Linked DNA regions of Homo sapiens: regions 1 and 2 are each linked to region 3. The links are contacts of gene promoters, found by promoter capture Hi-C in human tissues and cell types (Jung and others, 2019). All regions are on one chromosome and are shown on one strand. Each heading gives the region's core, a stretch centred on a gene start or on the middle of the fragment in contact. The rest is flanking DNA. Distances are from core to core; before and after follow the strand shown. Region 1 holds the start of CBL (Cbl proto-oncogene). Region 2 has its middle 13 kb from the start of DSCAML1. Region 3 holds the start of KMT2A (lysine methyltransferase 2A).

The links. Contacts are between HindIII fragments. The study calls those that stand out against the background at their distance.
Region 1: a contact is called between the fragment with the promoter of CBL here and the fragment with the promoter of KMT2A in region 3, in 1 of the 25 tissues and cell types used here (small bowel).
Region 2: a fragment that was not itself captured here is called in contact with the fragment with the promoter of KMT2A in region 3 in 1 of the 25 tissues and cell types used here (hippocampus).

Annotation. Positions count from the first base shown.
Region 1 is chr11:119,203,122-119,207,663 of GRCh38, forward strand. It overlaps CBL (Cbl proto-oncogene), which reads left to right and starts at 3,218. Exons shown (of 16, transcript NM_005188.4): 1 at 3,218-3,491. The coding sequence starts at 3,297. RefSeq lists silencers at 2,726-2,795, 2,836-3,225, 3,296-3,485, 3,676-3,735. The HindIII fragment of the contact is 26,271 bases long and covers 1-4,542 here.
Region 2 is chr11:117,808,132-117,812,466 of GRCh38, forward strand. It overlaps a transcript of DSCAML1 not described here. Among named protein-coding and RNA genes, the nearest start is that of DSCAML1, 13 kb to the left of the region's middle. RefSeq lists enhancers at 1,275-1,344, 1,395-1,444. The HindIII fragment of the contact is 6,582 bases long and covers 1-4,335 here.
Region 3 is chr11:118,434,217-118,438,457 of GRCh38, forward strand. It overlaps KMT2A (lysine methyltransferase 2A), which reads left to right and starts at 2,276. Exons shown (of 36, transcript NM_001197104.2): 1 at 2,276-2,728. The coding sequence starts at 2,297. RefSeq lists enhancers at 1,248-2,245, 1,445-1,584, 2,246-3,244, 3,245-4,241 and a silencer at 1,895-2,374. The HindIII fragment of the contact is 10,858 bases long and covers 1-4,241 here.

The sequences.
Region 1 (4,542 bases), core at 1,968-4,467, 770 kb after region 3:
GCCTGGTTAATTTTTGTATTTTAGTAGAGACGGGGTTTCGCCACGTTGGTCAGGTTGGTCTCAAACCCCTGACCTCAGTTGATCCGCCCGCCTCGGCCTCCCAAAGTGTTGGGATTACAGGCGTGAGCCACTGTGCCCGGCCCAGTCAATGGACTTTCAGGTGCAGAATGAGGATGTGGTTTGGGGTGAAGGTGAAGTGGGATAAGAAAAAGGCTACATGTTACACGATGTGATGCAGGATGAACCAACTCTAGCATAATCCAGAATGGGAATGACATTGTGATCAACAGTCCAACCCCCTCTCTTGTACATTTTCTAAAGCAAGCGAAATAAAAATTGTGGCAGGGCACGGTGGCTCACGCCTATAGTCCTAGCACTTTGGGAGGCCGAGGTGGGTGGATTGCCTGAGCTCAGGAGTTTGAGATCAGCCTGAGCAACACGGTGAAACCCTGTCTCTATTAAAATACAAAAAATTAGCTGGGCATGGTCTCAGCTACTCGGGAGGCTGAGGCAGGAGAATGGCTTGAACCCGAAGTGGAGGTTGCAGTGAGCCAAGATTGCACCACTGTACTCCAGCCTGGGTGACAGAGCGAGACTCTGTTTCAAAGAAAAAAAAAAGGTAAAAAAAAGGGTAATCTTCCTTTTCTTATTAACTTTATTTATTTATTTGTTTATTTATGTTTTTGAGACAGAGTCTCACTCTTGTCGCTCAGCCTAGAGTGCAGTGGCACAATCTGGGCTCACTGCAACTTCTGGCTCCTGGGTTCAAGCGATTCTCCTGCCTCAGCCTCCTGAGTAGCTGGGATTACAGGCGTGCGCCACCACACCCAGCTATTTTTTTTGTATTTTTAGTAGAGATGGGGTCTCACCATGTTGGCCAAGGATGGTCTCGATCTCCTGACCTCGTGTCCCACCTGCCTCGGCCTCCCAAAGTGCTGGGATTACAGGCGTGAGCCACCACGCCCGGCCTCATTTTTTTATTTTTAGTAAAGACAAGATTTCACCATGTTGGCCAAGCTGGTCTCCAACTCCTGACCTGAGGTGATCCGCCTCCCTCGGCCTCACAAAGTGCTGGGATTACAGGTGTGAGCCACTGTGCTGGGCCGAATGGATTGGATTTTAAAGCATACTTCAGGCAGATGGAATAAGGGAATAGTCTGAGTAACGGTGATGAGAAAAGAAAGAATTGGCCAGGTGCGGTGGCTCACACCCATGATCTCAGCACTTTGGGAGGCTGAGGAGGGCAGATCCCCTCAGGTCAGGAGTTGAAGACCAGCTTGGCCAACATGGTGAAATCTCATCTTTACTAAAAATACAAAAATTAGTCAGGTGTGGTGGCGGGCACTTGTAATCCCAGCTACTCGGGGGGCAGAAGTTGCAGTGAGCCAAGATTGTGCCACTGCACTCCAGCCTGGGTGACAGACTCTGTCTCAAAATAAAATAAAATAAATAAATAAATAAAAAAGAAATAATTGTATTTGATGACTTGGTGAGTCAGCTAGCATAAGACATGTGTACCAGGGAGTAGTATAAAACTACAAGGTTGTTTAGCTTGGAGTTAGAGCAACTTGTCAATTTTATTCCCGAGGCAATGGGAGGTGTTTAAAGTTTTTTTGCGATGCTGTCTGAACTATACTTTAGGAAGCCTATGGTGGCAGGATGAATTGAAGGCACAGGAAAAGGTTTCAATATTCAATAGTCCAGGGAAAAGAAACGGAGGACCTGCAACTAGGTGTTGGCACTAAGGGATGGAGCTTTGCCTAGATTTTCCCTTTGTAGATTCTTCTCTTCCTGGATGGAAAATGATAAAAGGAAATTCTTCTGATAGTAAATTATAATGTTGACTCCAAAATCAATTCTAGATAAAGGCGATTAAATTGCAAACCCAGGATGCCTGTCTGAATGGTCCCTGCATTCAAAGATATTTTCCCCTTTACAGGAGCACCGGATAAATTTAACTCCCTAATCTGTCAAGGGCTTTGTGGAAGAGCCTGGAGGGGGATCGAAGGCGGAACTGATACTGACACACCTGGGTCTGCAAACTCCCAAAACTGAGGCTCAGAATTAGTAAATTAGGGCAGGGCACTTCCCTCTTTGGAAGGGAAGTTCCTATTTTCAAAGTTCTTCCAACGGAACTTTTACATTAGAGAAGTGTAATTGACTGAGAAGTGGAAGTGACCAGGAACAGCATTTCTGTTCCCTGGGCGGGAGAGAGAACCCCCTCGGGCGGAGCCAGCAGCAGGTCAGCTTCTGAGGGGGCCCTCATGCTGGCGGCGCCGACCTGTGGTGCAATGCTCTGAGTAGGAGAATCTTAAATACATGTTTGAGATTCAATTCCCAGAAACGTAACTAGTCTTCACAAGCCAAAAAAATAAAAATAAAAAATAAAAAAAGGAAGTGATTTCTTTTCAAGAGGTCAAAGGGCCTGGAAGAAGAGGTCCTGGCTTGAGTGTCTCAAGGCTTTCTGGGGCCTAATCCGGCTGGAATGGGCCGCAGCATTCATATTCCTGTCCTTGGTCGTGTCTTAATGAAGAATTGAAAATAATAAGGGGTGGAGAAATAACTTTCCTTTTTCTCCCACCATCCTCCCACAGTGTAAATAAACAAATAACTCTAAGCTCGATTTCCTCATTTGTCAGGGGTGGGGAAAGACTTGACATCAGGACTCTTCCATTCCATCGCCACCTGTCTTAATTTAAACATTCCCATGACCCACCCCAGAAGCGCCAACCTCCCGCCCACAAGGAGCATGGAAGTCTTGGTTTCTGGCTACTGCGCAGACTCCACCTTGGACCTACTCCCCAACCCCCCGCCGCTCCTTTCCCCGTTTCTCCAGCAGAGGGCGCAGGCCCAAAGGTTCCGCCGACCCCGCCCCAGCCTGGCCCCGCCCCGCCCCGGCGTAGGGGCGGGGAAGACGGGCACAGAAACCTGGCCGCGGCTTTCCGGGAGCTGTGGGCACGCGAGCTGCTCGAAGCCGGTGGCCCGGGGATCGTCGCTGCCCAGTCCGGCCGCGGCCGGCCGCTTCCCCGAGCTTACCAGTAAGCCGGTCCGCCTCCGGGACGCGCCCCGCCCGCCCCGGGCTCGCGCGCTCTGAAGGGGCGCGTCCCGCGCACTCCCGGCGCCGCCCACTCCCCTCCCCACGGCCGCTCCTCCCTCCGCCCGGATAGCCGGCGGCGGCGGCGGCGGCGGCGGCGGCGGCGGCCGGGAGAGGCCCCTCCTTCACGCCCTGCTTCTCTCCCTCGCTCGCAGTCGAGCCGAGCCGGCGGACCCGCCTGGGCTCCGACCCTGCCCAGGCCATGGCCGGCAACGTGAAGAAGAGCTCTGGGGCCGGGGGCGGCAGCGGCTCCGGGGGCTCGGGTTCGGGTGGCCTGATTGGGCTCATGAAGGACGCCTTCCAGCCGCACCACCACCACCACCACCACCTCAGCCCCCACCCGCCGGGGACGGTGGACAAGAAGATGGTGGAGAAGTGCTGGAAGCTCATGGACAAGGTGAAAGGCCGGCTGAGCGCCCGCTGTTGCAGGGTGGGCGTGGGCGGAGGGCCGCGGGGAGGGGAACGAGCGGACGGAGGAAGCGGGGGAGGGGACGGGTCTGGTGAAGCCGGGGAGGCGCGGAGCCGGGGTGACCGGCCGGGGGCGTGGGGGCAGGGACGAGGCCGGGAGGGTGGGGGGCGGCGTGGGGGAGGGGCTGCCGTTGGGAGTCGGGGAACGCTGGGGTGCCGCGTTTGGGGTAGCCAGACAAAGATGGAGTGGGGGCTGGGGCGAAGGTTAACTGGGAAGTCAGTGGGGCGGAAGTACAATGAGGGGTGCGGAGTTTGGGGCTCTGTGCAGGGTGTAGGGATGTAGGTCACGGAATTGGCCTGGGAGGTTAGCAGGGAGGGGGTGAGGAAGAGTGATGTACCGGCTGGGGCTCTTGGCTGGGTGAGATCTGACTAGGGAATTAGGTTCATGGGCTCTGACTGAGGAACCTGGCTGGGGTCAGGACAGCTCTCAGGGAAGCTGTGCTCTGGGTGAGAGTATAGTCCTTTCTCATTAAGATGTAACACGAAGATAAAAGACATATTGATGTTTAAGTGAGGCAAGGAAAGAACTTTCCTCCCCATCTAGCGCCGGCTCAAGTTTTTTGTTACCCTCAGAAACACTGGATGTGATCCATTGCTGGTGCTGAGATATGCACTGATTAAACCACAAGTTCTGGTTAGAACTATTATCTTCTGAAAGATGGACTGGCTGAGCCTGTTAAGCAGCAGCAGATTCTGACTTCTTAATAACTTCCTCCCTACTACATCGCTTGAGCTGGGTTCTTTTTTTCTGGTAACGGTTCTGACTCCTTATTACAGGTCCTGACTTTAAACTTGTTCGTTGAGCTTCTTTGATTACGCTTTTTTGTTTGTTTGCTTTTTGCAAGTGCGAACAAAAATAACTCCTTTATATTTAGCCACTAAGTTTGTCATTTGGGAGAATTTTACTTCCTTATAGTTGTGTCTATATGATGAAATGTAGTCAGTCTCAAGTATTTAACTGTTTAAGCAGTCGGACGCTT
Region 2 (4,335 bases), core at 1,110-3,609, 630 kb before region 3:
AGTATGCTCACATGAAGATACCACAGCAAGACAGACATCAATATCCGCATGTTACAGATGAGGAAATTGAGGCTTCAGAAAGAGAGTGACTTGCTAAAAATTATGCAGGCACTAAATGACAGAGCCATTAAGTGACAAAATATAGAATTAGAAGGCCTTCGGACTCTATATTCTGGGCAATCTGCCGACACATTCCTATGGGTCAAACCTTTAGGAGGAGTCCTGAGACCATGGCTGGGCTGTCCCTGCCCCTCTGGAAAAGATAATAGGCGCATGCCCGAAGCCCCTGGCATGCGACATGCTATCCCCTGAGAGCATTTGCCATCTCTGGGTCTCAGTGGCTCCGAAACCACACAACTACACATGCACACAGGCACAGGTGAGGTGAAGGAGAGAGAGATCCCAGACTACAGAATCCGGGATCTGTATTTTCTGTTTCCCAGTATTTGGATGTAAGAAGCTTAGCATAGGTCTTGGGGCTGGCATTTGGGAAATCCTGAACTAGAAGATAAACTAGAAGGTTTATGTTCTGTAGTTTCATAAACACTATCCACTTAAGCTTGTCAAAAACACTAATACAGTGTCTGGCACATACTTGATAGTCAACAAAAATTTGCTGAATAATAAATGGCTGAAAAACACGCAATCACCCAGCCCAGCAGAAGCCTTGGTGAACACTGCTTCATCCCTCACCCACTTTACATGTTCGCAGCACTTTGTGGCGTACATATCTCATTTACACACATGATCTCGTTCAATCTCTTTAATGAGTTGGATATCACAAACCCCATCTCACAGATGAGAAAACTGAGGCTCCGAGACACTAAAGGACTTCCCCAGGGCTGCCCAGGTGGTCAGTGACCGAGCCAAGCTCACGCCCACGCCTGTCTACCCTGCTCTAGCAGCTCCGTCACTGCCCCGCCCCTGCTTCATATCATTTCCACTGCGAAGCTTGAGAGGAGGAAAAATCCATCCAGAGAGAATGAATCTTCCAGATCCGTTGGGAATGCCTCAGATTTAGGAGAGGCGACCTCAGGAGTTTGCCCTGAGACCCCAGGCTCAGGAGAAGTCTTGCCTCATTTGGCGAAGGGGCTCAGTGCAGACCTCCAGGGTGGGGCAGGTCCTGGGAGGCCAGCTGCCGCGTCTGCACTCCTGGAAAGTGCAGTGTGGGAAGGGTGGGAGCTGTGGGAAGGGAGGGGAGCCCTCCTCCCCGCTGTGCCTGACTCCTTGGGCGTGGCTCTGATGGCTGGAGAGGACAACCCGCCTCCCTGGCCCACTACTGGATGTGTCTCTGCGGTCCTCCGCGGAAGGAAGCTCCAGGCCTCCGCACTGGGAACCTGGTGTCTGCCTCCCCCTAGTGCCACAGGACAGGATGGTGGCGCCGCAGGCTGCTGTGCAGTACAACATAGACGGCGGCCACTCAAATTCTCCACTACACAGGTCCTGCCCTTCACCCCAGTCATGTCTCGCAGTGAAGCCGGAGGCTGGGCTCACTCCCTGCCCCAGCCTGTGTCCTTGCCAGCCTCTAAGAACTACTGGAGGGGACCAATGGTGTCCTCCAAAACAGACCTCTGATTCTCAGCTGAGGAGGCTGAATCGCCGCGCAGCGCTCCAGATGCTAGGTCCACCCACGCAACCCTCCTGGGTTGCTCTGCTCCTCCCCAGTTCCAGCTCAACTAGCAACGCACAACACACACAAACTCACACAGTCACATACACACTCACACTCACTTACACATTCACATACTCTTACACACACACACCCACACACTCACACACACATTCACACATTCACACACACGCATATTCACATACACACATTCACACACTCACACATTCACACACACTCATACACACATTCACATACACACATTCCCACACTCACACATATTCAAATATTTTCACACACATTCACACTCACACACATTCACACACTCACTTACACATTCGCACACACATACACACATTCACATACATACATATTCACATTTCAATCTTGGCGCCACACTTCAATCTCTCCCTTCTCTTAATTTCAATTCCTTTCATTTTCTGATAGAGACAAAGGAGACACGTGGACCCAAAACTCCGTGGACCCAAACTCCGTGGACCCAAAACTCCGTGGACTCAAAACTCCAGCGCCCTCTGGGGGAGGGGCAAGTACCCCTCAACCCCTTCTCCTTCACCCTTAGTGGCAAGTCCCGCTTTTCTAGGGGGCAAGAACCCCCAATCCCTTATTTCCGCACCCCGACCTCTTATCTCTGTGTCCCAATCCCTTATTTCCGCACCCCGACCTCTTATCTCTGTGCCCCAATCCCTTATTTCCGTGCCCCAACCCTTTCTCTGCTTTTCTGGAGGGCAAGAAACCCCCACCCCCTTCTCCGTATCTCTACTCTTTTCTCTAGGCTTGCCTCCTTCACTATGGGCAAGCTTCCACCTTCCATTCCTCCTTCTTCTCCCTTAGCCTGTATCCTTAAGAACTTAAAACCTCTTCAACTCTCACCTGACCTAAAATCAAAGTGTCTTATTTTCTTCTGCAATGCCGCTTGACCCCAATACAAACTCGACAGTAGTTCCAAATAGCCGGAAAACAGCTCTTTCAATTTTTCCATCCTACAAGAGCTAAATAATTCTTGTCGTAAAATGGGCAAATGATCTGAGGTGCCTGACGTCCACGCATTCTTTTACACATCAGTCCCTTCCTAGTCTCTGTGCCCAGTGCAACTCGTCCCAAATCTTCCTTCTTTCCCTCCCGCCTGTCCCCTCAGTCCCAACCCCAAGCGTCGCTGAGTCTTTCTAATCTTCCTTTTCTACAGACCCATCTGACCTCTCCCCTCCTCGCCAGACCAAGCTAGGTCCCATTTCTTCCTCAGCCTCCGCTCCTCCACCCTGTAATCTTTTTATCGCCTCTCCTCCTCACACCCGGTCTGACTTACAGTTTCGTTCTGTGACTAGCCCTCCCCCACCTGCCCAGCAATTTACTCTTAAAAAGGTGGCTGGAGCTAAAGGCATAGTCAAGGTTAATGCTCCTTTTTCTTTATCCCAAATCAGATAGCGTTTAGGCTCTTTTTCATCAAATATAAAACCCCAGCCGAGTTCATGGCTCGTTCGGCAGCAACCCTGAGAAGCTTTACAGCCCTAGACCCTAAAAGGTCAAAAGGCCATCTTATTCTCAATATACATTTTATTACCCAATCTGCTCCCGACATTAAATAAAACTCCAAAAATTAGAATCTGGCCCTCAAACCCCACAACAGGACTTAATTAACCTCACCTTCAAGGTGTACAATAATAAAAAAAGTTGCAATTCCTTACCTCCACTGTGAGACAAACCCCAGCTACATCTCCAGCACACAAGAACTTCCAAACGCCTGAACTGCAGCGGCCAGGCGTTCCTCCAGAACCTCCTCCCCCAGGAGCTTACTACAAGTGCTAGAAATCTGGACACCAGGCCAAGGAATGCCTGCAGCCCAGGATTCCTCCTAAGCCGTGTCCCATCTGCGCGGGACCCCACTGGAAATCGGACTGTTCAACTCACCTGGCAGCCACTCCCAGAGCCCCTGGAACTCTGGCCCAAGGCTCCCTGACTGACTCCTTCTCGGCTTAGCAGCTGAAGACTGAGGCTGCCTGATTGCCTTGGAAGCCCCGTAGACCATCGCGGATGCCGAGCTTTAAGTAACTCTCACAGTGGAGTGTAAGTCCATCCCCTTCTTAATCAATACGGAGGCTACCCACTCCACATTACCTTCTTTTCAAAGGCCTGTTTCCCTTGCCTCCATAACTGCTGTGCGTATTGACAGCCAGACTTCTAAACCTCTTAAAACTCCCCAACTCTGGTGCCAACTTAGACAACACTCTTTTATGCACTCTTTTTTAGTTATCTCCACCTGCCCAGTTCCCTTATTAGGCCGAGATATTTTAACCAAATTATCTGCTTCCCTGACTATTCCTGGATTACAGCTGCATCTCATTGCTGCCCTTCTTCCCAATCCAAAGCCTCCTTTGCGTCCTCCTCTTGTATTCCCCCACCTTAACCCACAAGAGACCTCTACTCCCTCCTTGGCGACCAATCATGCACCCCTTACCATCTCATTAAAACCTAATCACCCTTACCCCACTCAATGCCAATATCCCATCCCACAGCAAGCTTTGAAAGGATTAATGCCTGTTATCACTCGCCTGCTACAGCATGGCCTTTTAAAGCCTATAAACTCTCCTTACAATTCCCCCATTTTACCTGTCCTAAAACCAGACAAGCCTTACAAGTTAGTTCAGGATCTATGCCTTATCAACCAAATTGTTTTGCCTATCCACCCCATGGTGCCAAACCCATATACT
Region 3 (4,241 bases), core at 1,026-3,525:
TTCCTTCTTTCTGCTGCCTTGCAACCTGCAGACCTCCCACCTGTGTTAAATGAAGAATGCTTGAAGTGAGGTTACTCAGAACCCACCCGGTTCATGTTTTCTCAAGGGTAGAAGGCGGGAAGAAATCTGTTGACACAGTTATATAAAGCCTGTCATTCAGTCCCCTGCCTATTACCTCTGCAGACCGTTATGCATATTAAAGAAGGGGGGGCGGCAAATACAAAAGAAAAATAAGAGAGACGAGAGAGAGAGAGAAAGAGAGAGAGAGAGAGAGAGAACGAACAAATCAGGATGCTTGAGGGAATCCACGTGGTCGCCAATCTGTAACTGATCAGAGCAGCTACACTGAAGCAAAAACCCCAGCGCCCAACGCTAAATATATTGCAATGGAGAAACCGTCCACAATGGGGTGTCTCTGTCCTTAGCAGAGCCTTGGGGCTGCCGTTTAAGACCCTCCTGCTACTCCCACCCTTTTAGCATCTAGTAAACCACGCGCTGTAACAACGGAATCTTGTTCTGTGTATTGCGTTGTGCGAGTGTGCGCTTTGCAAACCATCTGGGCCCCATCCTGCGCGGTTGGAACGAAGATCGATTCGGGACGAGTTGGGGGAGTTGAGGCTTGCCTGTGTCTCCTCCCTTTCATTGCTCCTCTCCAGCCCCCATCCCATCGTCCGCTCTGCACAAATGTTTCGCCAGTGGAGGGACGTAGGTTTTCAGCACCAGGAGGCTGTGGACCTTCTCTGGAGGCGTGAAGTGCACCCTCCGGAGGGCCAGAGCTGAGTGCAACCTGCTCACAACGACCCTCTCCCTCCTTCCCAAATTCGCCGCCCCAGGCTGTAATATTACATGCAGTGCGCTGTACCGGTGCGGGAGTCCAGGAAGGCTGCATGACCTTCCAGCGAACTCCCCCTCGGCTTGGGGGATGGAGGCTGCCCCGGGGCCTGCAGGCTGTGTATCGATCCCCCAGCCTCAGCCAACGCAAGTTCTCCCGACACAAACCCCTCCCTACCCTCTCGGCTTTCCCAGCCTTGCAGGCGTCTAACGCTATGCTCGAGGCGCCCTCCCCTCTTTCCCGCAATAAAGTAAACCCGGTGGATATTCATTCCCCTCCCTAACTCGCCTCCTTCTTTCCCCCTCCCCCCTCAGCTTACTAACCCCGCGCACAGAGCTCGCCGCCGGCGGGCCCCTTCCACCCAGTGTATCATAATGCCCAACGCTCTCCTCCTCCCCCTCTCTTAATCAGAAACGTGCTCGCGAGCCCCCCTCCCTCTGCGTGCATACATTAGGGTCTGCTTTGCATGCAGCGGCAGGCAGAGACCGGAGGAAGAAGGGGCGGGGGCGCTTTTGCCCGCCTCTTCCCTCCAGGCCCCGTTAGCCACCCAGCTTCAGCTTCGTTGTAACACCGCGTCGTTAGCGGAGCACGCCGTGGCCTCAGTGCCCGGGCTGGAGAAACACAACCCAACTCCCTGCAGAAGGGCACGAAAGCCAGACGAGTGCACAGTAGAGCGAGGAGGTGGCAGGAGACCTGCCACTCGGTGTGTGCTTTTTGGAAAGAGCTCCAGCATGAAAATGGGAGGGGCTCCTTTTTTATTTTTTAAAGTGCGTTCATTGAGGGCCTTTCTGTTTTGCATATAGTAAACTGGGCAGCGCTTCTGTTTTGCATGTAGTACAATAAGGGCTCTTTTATTCTAGAAGCGTTCAATTCGGGCTAACCCATCTTGTATCCGTGCCCTGGGGCGGAGGAGAAGGCTCACTGCTCCCCGACCCAGCCGCCGCGTTATACTGGAAGCTGCTCTCCCGGGCTGTTCGATTCCCAGCGCGTCCCGGGAACGTGTGTAATCGGCCTCTCGGCGCTCAAGGCTGCAGGCGGCCCGGCTCCCTACGCCTCCATCCTCCGCGTAGTCCTCGCCCCCTCCCCCTCTCTCCGGAACCCGCGCTCTGCTCCGGGCTCCCGGGCTTCCTTCCCCCCTCCTTTTCCCGAGCAATGCCTCTCCCGGAGGGCGGGGCATGCAGTTATCCAGGTTGCGGGGCCGGCGGGCGGGCAGGAGGCGGCGGCCCGGGCCTCGGGATGGAGTTGCAGCGCCCAGGCGTCAGAGGCGGAGGCCCGAGGCCGCTATACAGATTGCGGGGCTGGCGGGCGCGGCCCGGCGCTCTGCATAGCGGCCGGCAGGGTGCAGGCGGCCGGGCGGCGCAGAGCTGGTTAGGCAGGTTCCGGGGCCCCGTGCCCCCCCCTCCGCCTCCCCGCCCCCCTGTGTTGTCGCCTCTCCCTCTCGCTGCTTCACTTCACGGGGCGAACATGGCGCACAGCTGTCGGTGGCGCTTCCCCGCCCGACCCGGGACCACCGGGGGCGGCGGCGGCGGGGGGCGCCGGGGCCTAGGGGGCGCCCCGCGGCAACGCGTCCCGGCCCTGCTGCTTCCCCCCGGGCCCCCGGTCGGCGGTGGCGGCCCCGGGGCGCCCCCCTCCCCCCCGGCTGTGGCGGCCGCGGCGGCGGCGGCGGGAAGCAGCGGGGCTGGGGTTCCAGGGGGAGCGGCCGCCGCCTCAGCAGCCTCCTCGTCGTCCGCCTCGTCTTCGTCTTCGTCATCGTCCTCAGCCTCTTCAGGGCCGGCCCTGCTCCGGGTGGGCCCGGGCTTCGACGCGGCGCTGCAGGTCTCGGCCGCCATCGGCACCAACCTGCGCCGGTTCCGGGCCGTGTTTGGGGAGAGCGGCGGGGGAGGCGGCAGCGGAGAGGTAAGGGGGCGAGGAACCCCCAGGTCCGGGGTCTCGACCCTCTGCGGAGCCCCCTCCCCTCCCCCATCCGGGATTGAGGAGCATCCCAATTCTGGGACCATCTCGGGGTCCCTGACCCGGGGCGAATGGCTCTCCCATCTTGGGACCCCCATGCAGGGCTGCAGACCCCCAGGCGCCCCCACCCCGGGGTTTGGGCCCATCTGGCTGAGGGCGTTTGCCCCCCGCTCTCCTCCCCCTGACCCTTCCCCAAATCCCTTGGCACAGACCCCCTCGCCGGGGTTTCCCATCCCGGGACTGAACCCCTCCTCCCTTTCACAGATTACCTCATCCGAGCAAGATTCCTCCCTCCCTCCCTCCTAGAGACCTGATCCCGCCACATCCCCGCCTCCCTCTCTGGGCAGATGTGTTACTCCTAGGGCAGTTTTCCTCTCGGGCGTCTCTCGGGTGATGGCCTCATCCAGGGCCACGTTCTCCTGGCCCTTGGGGATCGTGTCCCTTCCAGCACCTTGCTTTCGAAAACCCGATGAACCCTCGCGCCATCCCCGGGCCAGGTCCCTATACTGCCAGCCACTCCCCCTTCCTTCACCTCCACCCTCTACCCCCACCCCAAGCAGACCGATCCTCCCCCATCCCGCCCTACCCCACCGGGGAAAATCTCTCCTCTGCACCTTGCCTGGTCTCACCTCCTTTCCCTCTGAAGATAACGGTGATTCCTCATACAGCAGTCTCTTCCCCCCCCCGCCCCGTCTTACAGGGCTACAGTTTCTAGCCTATTGGTAGCCGGGAATTACTCTACCTTCACTCCACCCTTTCCCTCCTTTAGAATGAAGGATTAGTGGCATCTTGGAGGGGAAAATAGTCCACTGTCCCCTAGGCTTAGAGAAGAGCAGCTTTCCACCACTCCCCTTGGAGAGGAGGCAGGCTTTCCCTCCAGCTCTGGGGAAGGGGGCCCCTGTGAGGGGAGGTGTTTGTTGGGGGACTGAGGCAGCATCCTCCCAGGGGAAGCAGCTGCTCTCCTACCCCACCCACTGCGCCTGAGAGCACGCAGTCTCCAACCCGAGCTCCCTCCCGCCCTTCTCTTCTCGTCATTTCATTATTGATCCACCTTTTCCTAGGCCAATCCTGGGGCTTGGAAGGGGTGGGGGAAGCCAGGTTGGGGTGAGGAGAGTAGATAAGGGACAGTTATACTTTAGTGTGGTGGCGGTGGTTGCTTTGGGATGGGAGAAAAAGGATTATCAAGCAAAGTTATTCCTTAGAAAGGACTTGGGGTTGTCTCTGATTCTTGTAAGGGGACCCAAGGTGGATGAAGGGTCAGAGCGTTGCCCCTTCCCCATTAGTACTGGGGCAAGAACGGAGTTGCTTCTATAAACATTATTCGGCCCCCTTCAGCAAAAAGGAAAGTTGCCCAAGGAAGGGAAGTTGAGTTCAGGTTCAGCCAGTGGCGTTGCGCATTTGTTTTCCATTGGATGCAGAAGGGGGGAGTTCGAATTGTAGAGGGGGGAGGATGGCATGG